Linked DNA regions of Homo sapiens: region 2 is linked to region 1. Evidence: promoter capture Hi-C in human tissues and cell types (Jung and others, 2019). All regions are on one chromosome and are shown on one strand. Each heading gives the region's core, a stretch centred on a gene start or on the middle of the fragment in contact. The rest is flanking DNA. Distances are from core to core; before and after follow the strand shown.

Region 1 (6,217 bases), core at 3,379-5,878:
AAAGGAATCTCTCTGTAGTAGGTTTTCCTGTTGCATTGTTTTGTACCTTGGTGACAGTACTAGTTTCAGGCAGTTCTTCTTTGTGGCTTCATGCATTTCTATCTTCCTTACCAACTACCTTAAAGCTCCCTCAGGGCACAGGCCGTGTTTTCTTCATCTTTACAAAATCCAGTGGGACTTTGCACAATAACTTACATTGAAGGTGCTCAATATATGCTGTTGAATTAAAATAAAATTGTTTTAGGAGAAAAAGTTAGAGTGATGACTTTAACATAAGATACTTCAAAAATGTGCAAAATGCACGTTTTGTATATATTGTATATATTTGTAGGTTAACAATATAATTGACTGTATGCTTATATTGAATGCTGAAAAAAATCTGATACTACCAAGAGGAAACTTTCACACTCTTTATGAAACCTAGTGTGTAGTTTTGGTTAAAATTCATAGTTTAAACTGCAGAATCTAAACGTTTGAAATGAGGAAAGATGTTGCTTTTAATCTTAGCACTGGTGCAACAGGGTGAAAATCTTTTAGAATATGCATGGTTAGGATGGTTAGCTTAGCACAGGTATGTCAACAAAGCATTACCATAGCTCTGTGTTTGAGATCTCTCTCTCTCTCACTCTGTGTGTGTGTGTGTGTGTCCATGGACCTTTTTTCTTAGGAAATATTTATTTAAAGAATTTCCTGACTATAGAGAGAAATATGATGAATGTCATAGATATTATGGTAAGTGCGTTTGGAGAAGGCAAAAGTATTTTGTTTTCTAAATATTTAAACATGACCTGCACATCAGTTGTGATGTGTAAATGCCATGGGAATACTGGGAGCAACAAAGAAGGGGTTTGGAATGCTAGAGTGGATAGTTCTCTCTAACCCAGAAAGGACAGTTGGAAGCCAAAAGATGAGATAAAGTAACACTTGAAGAATATGCATTTGGCAACAATATCCGGGATAACTGCAGGAAGGTTGATCCTGGAGTCATGGAGGCCAAGGAGGAAGCTGTAATATAATACAGATGTGACGGGTAGAGGCACAGTAAGAGCAAGTGGTAGAAATGTAGAGGAAGGAGTGGATATAAAAGAAATTTCAAAGGAGAGATCTCTATAACTTTGTCAATGTGATAGATAATTCTAAAATACTGTGTCTAAGTGAATTGAGTGATATAACACCAGCAAAAGAGTTGAGGAGGGCAGTTAGACCATAAGGAAATATGAGACTTTAATTTTGAATATCTTGAGCCCAATAACACATTAAAATACCCTGGTGGAAATTCTCCGGCTCTCCCTGTCATGTGAGGGATTCTGTTTTTCTCTGAGGGATGCACTGGGGATATCGGATCTGGAGATGGCAAAGAGAAATTTAAGACAAATAAAAAACAAGCTAAGTTTGAAAACATCAAGGTCATAGCATAGCCACAGCTAAGATATGCCAGGTGTTCTGGCTGGATATTTGATCTCCCATCATCTTGACTCCATGCTGAGCTAAATGGCCTCCTACACTGATTATATTCAGGTATAGACTTTTCCTTCCACTCATCTACAGCTATCCAGCTTGTAGTCAGTCATTAGAACATGTTAACTTTATGACTTAAAAATGTACAAAAAATACTTATTTTACAGTGGCCTAAGACACTGAAGCCTCCAAATGTATGAAGTAGACACTAGGCCAAAGAGGTATTCTCTGACTGCAATACAAATATTTCTGATATCCTCTTGGCAAAGTTTAACTCATCCTTTAAGAACTAACTCAACAGTTACTGTCTCTATGTAGCCCACCTGACTCCCCACGGCAGTTAGTCTCTTCATTGTCCATGTTCCCATGACCCTTTGTTCTCTTTTATTTTTTTACTACAGCATTTGCCTCTCATTCTGTCAATACATCTGTTTCTCGCCACTAGGCTGGGAGTATCTTGAAGATGGGCACCACTTACTCATCTTCATATTTTTCACTCCCCTAACAGAGTAGGGGGCTACTGGGTGATAGTTCATTGTTGGAAGTATCCAAAAGGGGAATTTTAAAAACATAGATGGAGCAATGTGCAGTTGCTGTAACAAAGCCTGTGTACACATCATATGCCACATCCCTGCTGGCGCCATTAATGCTGCACCAGCAGAGGCAGCGCTCTCATTACATACTGCTGGCCCATATTTGTAATGTGTGACATTTTTTATGAAATACTGTCAAGGGCAATCCATCATATAGTAACCTTTGGATTATATGCTGAGAATGGTCTTAAACATAGACATAAATGAACTTGAAGAATAATGCTATTTTCTAAAAAGAGTATGATCAAAGAGTTCTAGCTAGGAAAATGAGACAGAATGGTAAGTTCTTTTAATTTAAACAGAAGTGCCTTAAAAAGAGGCTTTCTTCTGTCTAGCTCCAGCTGAAGACAGGGTTATTGTGTGAAGATGATTAGGTGACTCTGGAATGTGGCTGAATATTTATTTCTTGTAATACATGAGGTGAAGACTTGAAAAGGGGATGAGGACTTGCTAAAGGCTTGACAACCCTTGGGGCTTCCAAGGTTTTGATAACTTTATCTCAAGATGCATTTCTAAAAATAAAAGAACACATGATGACTTGAGTGAATTTCAGATGTCAACTGTGGACTCACAGTTAAAGGTATTCTCTCTGTGCATCTATTAAGATCTAGGATTTTATACATATTGTAGAGTATAAATTAAAGAAAGCTTCTAAGTCTTATCATTTTTGTGTAAATCCAGCTAAGACTCCTTTGATGAGCTCAGTGTTTGCTGTGAAGGAAAAGCTTATAGGTGAGAGGAACACTAAAATTATAATTCTTTGTCTTCCTTAATTAGACTAGAGCTCACCATAGACCTTGCTGAAACTGTGAGAAAATCCAAGCAATAATTCACACTGTCAGGTCAGCAGAAATGGGAATGCGGGTCTGATATAACTGAAAGATTTGCTTAAGTGATCTATCTATGAACTGAACCGCTCAGAATAGGCACACGATCTTCACTGGAAATGTACCCTCTGAAGATGCTAAACACAAACAGCAATGAAAATAAATCCCAGCAAGAGCCTTATACCACCTTTACAGATGTCATCCTAGAGGAAGGATATAAAGCATATTAATACCAATTGATGTAGGGCACTAATTAATAAGTCCCATTAAATCATGGAGTAATGACATTTAGCATGTAATGAATGCCTCATAATTTCTTCATCATTAATATTTCATAGCATAAGAACACAAGCATTTTCATCCCTGGGCCAGTGCAGCATGGTTTTCTGTCTCTGACATGACCACAAGGGCATTGAGTGGCACGAGTGTATTGCACCTCTGTGGTATAGACTGACTATACCGCACAAGTGATTAACTCTTAGCACCCCGGGTCCTAGCGTTTCCTCATTTTAGAAAATGTGAATCTGCCTGCCATTCTTGGAAGTAACCTCTGTGACTGGAAGATGGAAGAACTGCCCCAGGCTCAGGTGTTGACTTTGGTGTGTAGCATTGCTTTGCTGTTGACCCCCACCCCCCAGCCCAAGAAGGAAACCTGCACAGGAGAAAATCATTACTTTGATTTATTACTGGGGGCTTGCTGTATGCAAAGGCAATAATCACCTCATGGAGCAGGTGCCACTGCCAGGGTTCATTGATTCCAGGCTCTTCTAGAAATTCCAGGAGGCCAGTCAGTCTGGCGGGAGATGGACGTAGTCAACGAAAAAAGAAGTCCATCTCATAGCAGGTTGAAATGAAGTGGGAGAAAAATCTCTGGTCATCGTTCTATCGCTCCACTGACACTCGGTGTCTTTTTCTTTCAGAAGAGGGGCTTGAGCAGAGAGAATGCTTAGAGGCTAAGCGATGGGCAAGTGAGAGGGAAAGAGCCGCGACAGATAGAGCTGGCTGCCTAGGGGTCTCAGAGGCTTCATCCTGCAGGCGGCAGGCGGCAGGACAAAGGGACCTTCGGACTCCAGATCAAGATTCCAAGGAGTTAAACGCTACCACGCAGCCCGACCTGGATGGGATTTGCTCCTGGGTACAAAACGGGACACTGATCAAAATCAACTTGGACAAGTGACAAGAGTGAGTCTTATGTCGGTGGATGTCTTTTAAGGTCGTTGGAGGGAAGAGGACGGGAGGGGTGTGCCGAGGGGTAGGTGGAGAGAGGCACCGAGTCCAGAGCCGGGATATAAATGCACCAGGAGCCGGGGAGCAGAGGAGCAAATGAGTGGGGGAAAGTGTGAGAGGAAGAGTTGGAGAAAAGTCGGGGGAAAGTAGGGACAGGGTTAAGGGGAGAGAGGAGGATGAGGGCGGCGAGGAGAGATTAAAAGGGGAAGGGGGGTCGCTGGAGAGGAGGGCGGACTGTGGATCGGAGGTAGGGAGAGGGGCGAGAGGAGTGCGCGGGGTGGGGGGCGCCGGGGCGAGGAGAGGGGGCTGGGGAAGAGGAGGGGGGCAAGAAAGCGAGAGCGGCGCGGGGGAGGGCTAGGAGCCCGGGGGCCGGGCCGGGGGCGGGCGGGCGGTGGGAGGCGAGATCAGGCCAGGGGAGAGGGAGCGAGCCGGGCCGGGCTCGCAGGGCGAGGAGGCCGTAGGAGGGAGGTGGGGGGCAGGTGGGGGGAAGAGGGAGGGAGCGGGCGGAGAGCTGGGGCCAAGTGCATTGTGTCTGGCGGCGGCGCGCGAGCCCACCGGCGGCTGCGGCGGGGCGGGAAGCCATGGAGCCGCGGGCGCTCGTCACGGCGCTCAGCCTCGGCCTCAGCCTGTGCTCCCTGGGGCTGCTCGTCACGGCCATCTTCACCGACCACTGGTACGAGACCGACCCCCGGCGCCACAAGGAGAGCTGCGAGCGCAGCCGCGCGGGCGCCGACCCCCCGGACCAGAAGAACCGCCTGATGCCGCTGTCGCACCTGCCGCTGCGGGACTCGCCCCCGCTGGGGCGCCGGCTGCTCCCGGGCGGCCCGGGGCGCGCCGACCCCGAGTCCTGGCGCTCGCTCCTGGGGCTCGGCGGGCTGGACGCCGAGTGCGGCCGGCCCCTCTTCGCCACCTACTCGGGCCTCTGGAGGAAGTGCTACTTCCTGGGCATCGACCGGGACATCGACACCCTCATCCTGAAAGGTGAGCGGCGGGCGCACCCCGCGTCCCCGGCGCCCGCGCGTGGAGCGCAGCCCGCGGCTTCCCAGGGGCGCGCCGGTCCCCGCAGCCCCCTCCCAGCCGCGGCCCCGCGCCTGGGCATTCTTGCATCCTTCCCGCCGCCTCCAGTCTTTATCTCTTCCCTTTCTTTCCCCACTGCCTCCCTTCTTCTCCCTCTCCTTGACTCTCTTCTTTCGTCCACATCCTGCGCGTCCTTTCAAGTCCGTGCCGCACCTCCCGCCTCTGTCTCCTTCTTTCCTGCCTTCGCCTCCCATTCCCCGGTTCTCTCTCTCTCCCCGTCCTTCTCTGCCTTTGTACACCTGCCTGACATGTGTGTCTTTTCTTGACGCTGCTCCCCGTGAGGGGGACTAACCGTCAAAGACTCGACTTTTCTCACCCGGGCTCCTTCCTTCAAGTTGTGCTCCTTTTGGAAATACCGTTTGGAAGAAAAGTGGTGCCGACCTCCGAAGAGAGGGAAGGGGCTTTGCCTGTATTGTGCGGATGCTGGTGTCAGACGGAACTGATGTGGTCATCCCAGCCTGGCAGGGCTGATGGGCAGCGAAGGAGGCCCCGGAACCTTCCTTCATACCCCTGAAGTGCAGGGTGTGTGTGGATTAGACTTCAGAGACCAATCGTTGGCTGGTGGAGGCTGGTGGAGGCTGCCCGAGGCAGATAGGACACCTGCTTTCCAACCTTCCTGAGGACCCCATACCCCCACCCTCCTCGCTGTCCAGGCACTGAGGAGAGAAAATGTCCTCGCCCTTTAAACTAGAGCTTTCCAGATTTGGGCACTCACTCTCTGCTTATCACTCTGTCTTCTGTTCGTGGTACCTTGTCAGGTTGTTTTTGTTGTTTGTTTTGTTTGGCACTGAGTTGCAGAGCATCAATTTGTTCTTCTGAAATCTGTGCAACACCTGTCTTCTGTGAATGCTATCAGATAGTTTGATTTTTTTTTTTTTTTTGGTAATCCCATTCACGTAAAAATATTCAGTGTGACAACTTGTGAAGCTTCCTTTAACTTTCAGAACTTGACTCAATGTATTTTTTTCCCCTTTGAGATTAAAAAAAAAAATCAACATCTCTTCTCTTGGACTCATGATGCCAAAAAAGAAAAAG
Region 2 (6,817 bases), core at 2,651-5,150, 69 kb after region 1:
CCCATGATTCTGCGGGCTGAGAAGTTCAAAAGCATAGTGCCACATCTGGTCAGTTTCTGGTGAGGGCCATGGGCTGGCTCAAAATATGGCAGAGAAGCAGAAAAGTGAGTGGGTAGGTACAAAGAGAGCAAGAGAATGTCTAGGAAGCAGAACTTCTTTTACAACAGCCAATCACTGGTAACTAATTTAGTCCTGGGAGAGTGAGAATGAACTAGCTCCCTCAAGAGGGCATTGATTCATTCATGAGGGATATCTACCGACATGACCCAAATACCCCTACTAGGTCCAACTTCCCCAAACCATCACGTTGGGAATCAAATTTCAATGTGAGCTTCCAGGAGGACAAACTCAAGCTACAGCAGTAGTGTTATATTAAGTCTCTCAGGGTTGGTCACTGCTGCTGGAAATTAGTCAGCAGTGGCAGTGGCCACATCTTGGCGAGAAGTCCTTGTTGGGCCAGTGCATTGTTTCTGTCTGTCTCTGCAACCATTGTCTATGGGGCCACTGAGCAAGCACCAGGATGGCTGGGGAAAGGGTAGGGCACTGGGCAGGCAATCTTCCAACTACATATTTAGAACCTCCTACACAGTATGGCCTCTTGAGACCATTCCAATAGGACAAAAATATTCACCTATATTGGGGTCTAGTATAACATGTCCATCCACATTCCTCTTCCCGAGACCTTATTTCATGTTCCTGACCATCCATCTAAACTGATACTCATGAGGATGACATGTTGAGGATCTGCCTCTCAGGCCATCTCTCCTTCCAGGAAAAGTGTATAATGTGGACTACTCCAAGTTCTGCTCCCTGGGAGGAGAACTTCCCCACTTTCTTTCCTGTCTTTCACCCTGAGTGGGGCTGCAATTAAATTCCCACAGGTGCCAGCAAAACTTGCAGAGTCATCTGTAAGCCATATTTGACTTCTTTTCTCCTTGGTGAACTGCTCACTGGAGACTCCTCATGAGACCATGGCTATGAGGGAGGGGTGAGTGTGGCAGGAAGCACACTGAGAGGAAAAAGCACTGACTGCCCCTGCAGCTCATGAGTGCCGTCAGCCATGTGGAACTCAATGCTGATATATACCGCTCCCATCTGATGAGGATGTGCTGCTGGGTTGGGTCCATGCGACTTTTGGCTTGGCGTGTCATTACTTCAAGATGGGCAGCTTAGGTCATATGGTCACCTAGTGTCCCATGGTCAAGCCCTCAGAAGCAAGCCCCAATAGCAAGTCAAGAGTTATTTCCAAAAGGAGAATAATTAACTTGCATAGGAGAGCTTGGCTTTGCTCCAAAAGCTAAGATGCTGCAGCTGTGCTTCCTCTACTGGGATTTGCTGCAGGCTTCACACACCCTCCAGGTCTGCCCCAGTTGCTCTGAGCACCATCAGATCTCCTGGGTCTCTAAGGGCATTAGGGAGCTGCTTACAGTAGGGCTGGTGCAAGTAGAGAGCCATCTCTTAGCCCAGGCCTCAATTAACAGTAAATGAGTCAGAGCAGCAAATCCAAAGCTCATGTAGGCTGCCTTCAGATGCCACAGAGTTCCATCAACATCCGTGCCTTTCTTAGTGTTGGCACTAACATCTGCAGCTCCTACAAATATATGGTATTGCCTTTGTTTATTTCGGTAAGAAGGGGAACCTAAGGAGTGTGACATCAGCCCTTCCAAAAATCTATACCCTTACTCCATGGATCAGAAAGCCATTATGGGTATTCTGCAATTGCTGAGGGTAGCTATTCCAGCTATAGACTCAGACACTGGGTAAGTTACCGGATGGTTTGTCACTGAGAAAGTTGAAGTAGTTGAAAGAGAATTTCCACAGTCTACCACCACCACATCCGCCCACCTTCCAGCATCTGCTCCCACTTATAATCTGTTCTCTTACAACACGTATTTCTGTAATAGGCATTAAATCGAATATTGCTAAGTAAGGAGATGACGTCACTCTCATGTGGAAATTGGGTTGGTTCATACATGATTTTTTCTTTTTAGCATATTAATGCTTTGTGTCACCAGACAGGAGCAGCTGAACGTGAAGGATGCCAATGGAATGAGTTGAACGAACAAGGTGCGGAATAAGGCTCTTTATATGACGTCCATCATCACAGGCTTTTTCTGGTTCATCTTGGCCGCAGGTTCTGCCTTGGCCAGGCAGACAGTGCCTGTTGTGTAACTCAGCATCTCCTTACCCTTCTTTATGCCTAGTCTATCAAGGTGACATTGCCCTTTTCTTGGAAAGGTGAAGTCCTTATTTACTTACATATTTATTAGGAATATAATGTCTTAACTGTGCCAATATTTTCACTAAGATTGGTGTTTCTGTTAGTGTTCAGGTTGCAAAATTGGATGTTTGCAATGGTTTTCCCCAACCAGAATTTATGTTTCTTTTTCATAAATTGTTATTTTTAGTGCATAAATTTGAGAATGAAAAAATTTTTAGGAGCATATTTATCATACTATAGCTGAAATGTCTGTATGCTGTCTTCCTACCCGTAATCGTGAACAAATTATCATGCTCCTGTCTAAAGCTAATTCCTCCAATTGTGGACTGCATTTTATCCCCTTATTCAAGGACGTCGCTCTAGCACTTAGCCCTTTTTTCCTATTTCATCATCTTTTCGTCTTTCCTGGAATTCTCTTTAACATAAAAAAAAAGCTGCTACTTCTCCCAACAAATCTTTCTCTTGCTTTCACACTCTTTACCAATCTACTACTCCTATTTCTTTGCTCACCTGTTCTGCAAAACTAGTTGTAAGAACTGTCTATGCTCACTATCTCCAGCTCTTTTCCTATTTTTTCTTAAGCTCACTGCAGTCTGGTTTTGCTCCCCTTCCATTCCACCAAAAGCCCCATGGTCAAGGTCATGAATGACTCCCTCACTGCTAAAGCCAATGGTCAATTTCCAGTTATCTTACTTGGTCAGTTAGCAGCATTTATAGGGTTAAATACTCCTCCTCTATACCCTTTATTCATGTCTTCCAGGCAACCACACTAGGTTTTCTTTCTATTTCACTGGTTGTTCCATCTCAGTTTTCTTTGGAGTTTCCTCTTCTCCTGCCAACCTCTCAGTATGGGAGGAATTCAGGGCTCAGCCCTGGTCTTATTCTCCTATTCCCAATCCTTTGGTGATCCCATCCAGTTTCATGCCACCTAAATACTGAAAATTCCCATAATGTATCTCCAGAGCAGACCTTTTTCTTAAAGTGCAGACTCACATATTCAATTGCCTAATCAACATCTCCACTTTGTTTAATGCATATTTCAAAATTAGCAAGTCTAAAACTGTCTAGCAAGCAAGTCTAAACAAGATCTGCTAGTTTAGACTGTCTAGACTAGTCTAAATTAGAGTGTCTAGACTAGCAAGTCCAAAACAGAATTTCTGATATTTCTCACCAAACCTGCAGCCTCTGCAGCCTTTCCTCTCTTAGTTGATGAAAACTCTACTGTTCCAAGTTCTTGGCTAAAAGTCTTCAGTCATTCCTGTCTCCTCTCCATTTATCATACCTCACATCTAACACATCAGTACATCCTTCTGGTTCTACTTTCGAAATACATCCAGAATCCATGTGCCTCCTACCAACACGACTGTTACCACCCTGGGGCAAGCTACCATTTTCTTTTGCCTGAATCATTGCAAAAAACTCCCAGCTGATCTCTTTACTTTCACCCTTCTCTTCCTACAATCAATTTGCAATATAGCAGCTACAGTATCCTAAAACATATGTTAGGTGACATCACCTATTCAAAACTCTTTCAGTGGTTTTGAGTAAAAGCTAAAGCCCTTAAAATAGTCTTCAAGGCCCCATCTCATCTAATATACCACCTCTACCTGCCACCCATTACCTTGTTAACCTAATCTCTCATCCTTTATCCGCAGTATCCACTATATGCCAGGAGTATCTCTCTCCTCCTTCAAGTTGTGGTAATCAAAAATGTCTGCAGACATTGCCATATGTCTTCTGAGGACCAAAAATTGCCGCTGGCTGAGACCCCTGCTTTAACCCAAGGAATAAGGACTACAGAAATCTTGCTTTTTCTTTGAGTTGTCAAGTTCTACCAAAAGCAGATAGCCCGCCTCATAGGGCTCGTATTCCTCAGGTTTTTGGTGTTTCCCAGAGCATCAGGTAAGCACAGGCATTATGAACTGCTTCACCATCACATGCCATACACTTTCTATAACACTAGCTGTATTCTCACTGCCTTTAACCCAAGTAGGCCAGATACCGAGTAACGAATTCACATTACTGGGGGCCTCTTGCTTGAAACCCCTCAGAGTATCAGTCTCCATTATCAGAGTCCCAGCTGTTAACAACACAACCACATTTACTTAGTTTTAGCAAAAATGAAATGTATTCAAGATTAGTAGGTGGCTCTTAGAATTTCCTAGGAAGGCCAGAGAGAGAAGCTTAGCGGTGGCTACGTAGCCAAGAGCAGTGCTGAAACCTCAGGAGAGGAATGTTCTGGTGAAGATCGCTTTGTGTTGCCACTGGGCACAAATGCCATAGCTTGCACATGGGTGGACCTGATACCAGGGGCCCAGGTTTCCACACCCTGGCTGGAAAACAGATTTTATGACTTCTGCTTTGGGGAGCTGATTCACAGGGTGGAAAATTACCCAAACATAGCAAAGTTGTTCAAATACCACTAAAGCTGCCAATAAGTTGAACAATTGTATCACACTATTGAAAAACATTAAACCAGAGCATATATTCTCCTCAAACTTACTGTTTCTTTTTCTCAGGTAGTGAACATAAGCAACAAACTGACTTTCTATATAAATAAGGGCGAGGTGACAGTGTATGAATGCTTTTAGAAAAAAAGCAAATTTCATTTTCCATCATGTTTTGAAGGATACTGGCTTAATTCAGTTATTATTCTCACTGTTGGTTTACATAATAAACATATAAAATGTATTGCAAATACAAATTATTTTCATTCCAATGGAGAAGAAAATTACAGGCTCAAAAATCAAGTTTAATATCAAAAGAAGTTACACATAAAGGTTTTTACATTTCCGAAAATCTGATAGTTAAAATATCCCGTCTGGTGTTGATTGTGATACACTTAAGTGAACCCCTGAAAACCTTTATTTTGAAATTGAAGTTTTTGCTCAGAAACTGGGCAGAACTTTTCACATTCTGACAGAAGATAAAACTTAAGTCTAAAAAATATTCGATAACTTTTTTCTCAAAAACATTAAGTACTTTAGAATATAAAGCAGAAACTCTTACCAAGCATGTGTACCCATCAGCCACACCTCCTGTCTTTGGGGGAATTTGGTTACTTGGAGCTCTGTGGGTGCTATATGAATCCTAGAGACAGCAAACTTCTGCTGTACAGCTAACTTACAAGGGCCTGAACCCGGCTGATGGCAGCAAGCCTGCTACAGTCCAGAAGAGTGCGACTTCTTATATTTACATATGAACGCATCTGTCTTTCCAAGGCTAACTTTGTAGCATTCCACTGGTACCAAGGAGCCAAATGGTGACATTCTGTCTAAGAATTTGTGGTTACTGGCTTCGAATGAAGTTGACGCTGTCTTGAATGCACCAGTTTTTTCTTCAGGATTCAAGCACTTTTTAATTCCAGGTTCATCTGTGTGACTGTCCTTGGAATTGAAAGGGATGTTGCTCTCTTTACAATCTGTAAGGCGCCTGTGGTGATCTTCACTAAGCAACAATACAATGGTTCCGCCAACATGAAGCACTCTGTGACAAAAAAAAAATGGTAATTGCTATCTTTCTCCTTTCTAGACAACAAACAATCCCACTTCATTTAAAATGGTTCATGTTTTTAATTTGAAATTTAATTTTATCCATTTAAATATAAGGATTTTTGATAATTAGGTAGTATCTTCTATAATGTATATTCATTATAGTAATTATGAAATCCCTAGTACAAATCTGCTTTAATTATCTATTTTTACTCAAAAGGCAAGCCTCAAAGTAATTTGTAGTCACGGTCTAATAAATGATTGTATAAAGGAAAAGGCAAATGACAGAATCCTAAAGACTGCATGTATTAAAAGCAGTAGCCTGACAGCAGAAGAAAGTTAACAGGAAAGAGTTAGGACACGAACAAAGAAATGGCGAAGGAAAAATCAGAAAAAGAAGGGCAGATCTTGAAATGTCAGCTTCTTGAGGAGAATGCATTTACTCAATTATCAAAGTCTATGTAGCACTTATGTGGAAAAAGTCATGAAAACACTTGCCTGTGTCCCGTGACATAGCCCTGTAAGTTGCCAAGAGATCACTGAACATCTCTTTGGGAGAGAGAGGCGAGTAAAGGGTGTGAAAATGCTATAATCAAGGCAAGCATGAGGGGCTTGGGAACATGAGGTGGGTCCCAAACCCGAGCATGGGACAGAGGAGAGAATTTCCCAGAGGAAGATACCTGTGCTATGAGTTAAAAGACAAGTGGGAATGAGCCAGGCAAAGCGACGGCAAGCGGCTGCAGCAAGGGAGGGTGCTGGAAGCAGAAAAAGCAGCAAAGACGGGAGGAAGTGGAGAGGAGGCAGCTCTGAAAGCAGCTCAGTGGGTGGGTGAGTCACAGCGGGTGGGAAGTGGAGGGAGGAGGGGAGTAAGGAGTTCAGCTTGGAACGTGCTGATGTACCTAAGGAACACATAAGTGCGGATTCCACCAGAGAGCTGGATACACAGCCTGGAGTAATGGAAAAGACCAGGCCTTGAGGTAAAGATACAGTAAATGGTAGCTAAAGCCATAATGGTGGATGGGATCACCTGGGGTGGCAGTACAGGTTGAGAAGAGAAAATGGGACAGGGAGCAGAGATTTCACATTTAAAAAGTGACGGAGGAGA

What was found. The method cuts DNA at HindIII sites, captures the fragments that hold promoters and counts their contacts. A contact is called where the count stands out against the background at its distance.
Region 2: a contact is called between a fragment that was not itself captured here and the fragment with the promoter of TMEM178A in region 1, in 2 of the 25 tissues and cell types used here (hippocampus and neural progenitor cells).

The regions. Positions count from the first base shown.
Region 1 is chr2:39,661,289-39,667,505 of GRCh38, forward strand. TMEM178A (transmembrane protein 178A) reads left to right here and starts at 4,629. Exons shown (of 4, transcript NM_152390.3): 1 at 4,629-5,086. The coding sequence starts at 4,687. The HindIII fragment of the contact is 7,843 bases long and covers 1-6,217 here.
Region 2 is chr2:39,731,353-39,738,169 of GRCh38, forward strand. It overlaps THUMPD2 (THUMP domain 2 tRNA and snRNA guanosine methyltransferase), which reads right to left. Exons shown (of 10, transcript NM_025264.5): 10 at 4,709-5,707. The coding sequence ends at 5,383. It overlaps LOC124905994 (a long non-coding RNA gene), which reads left to right and starts at 5,643. Exons shown (of 3, transcript XR_007086294.1): 1 at 5,643-5,726. It also overlaps a transcript of TMEM178A not described here. The HindIII fragment of the contact is 4,220 bases long and covers 1,791-6,010 here.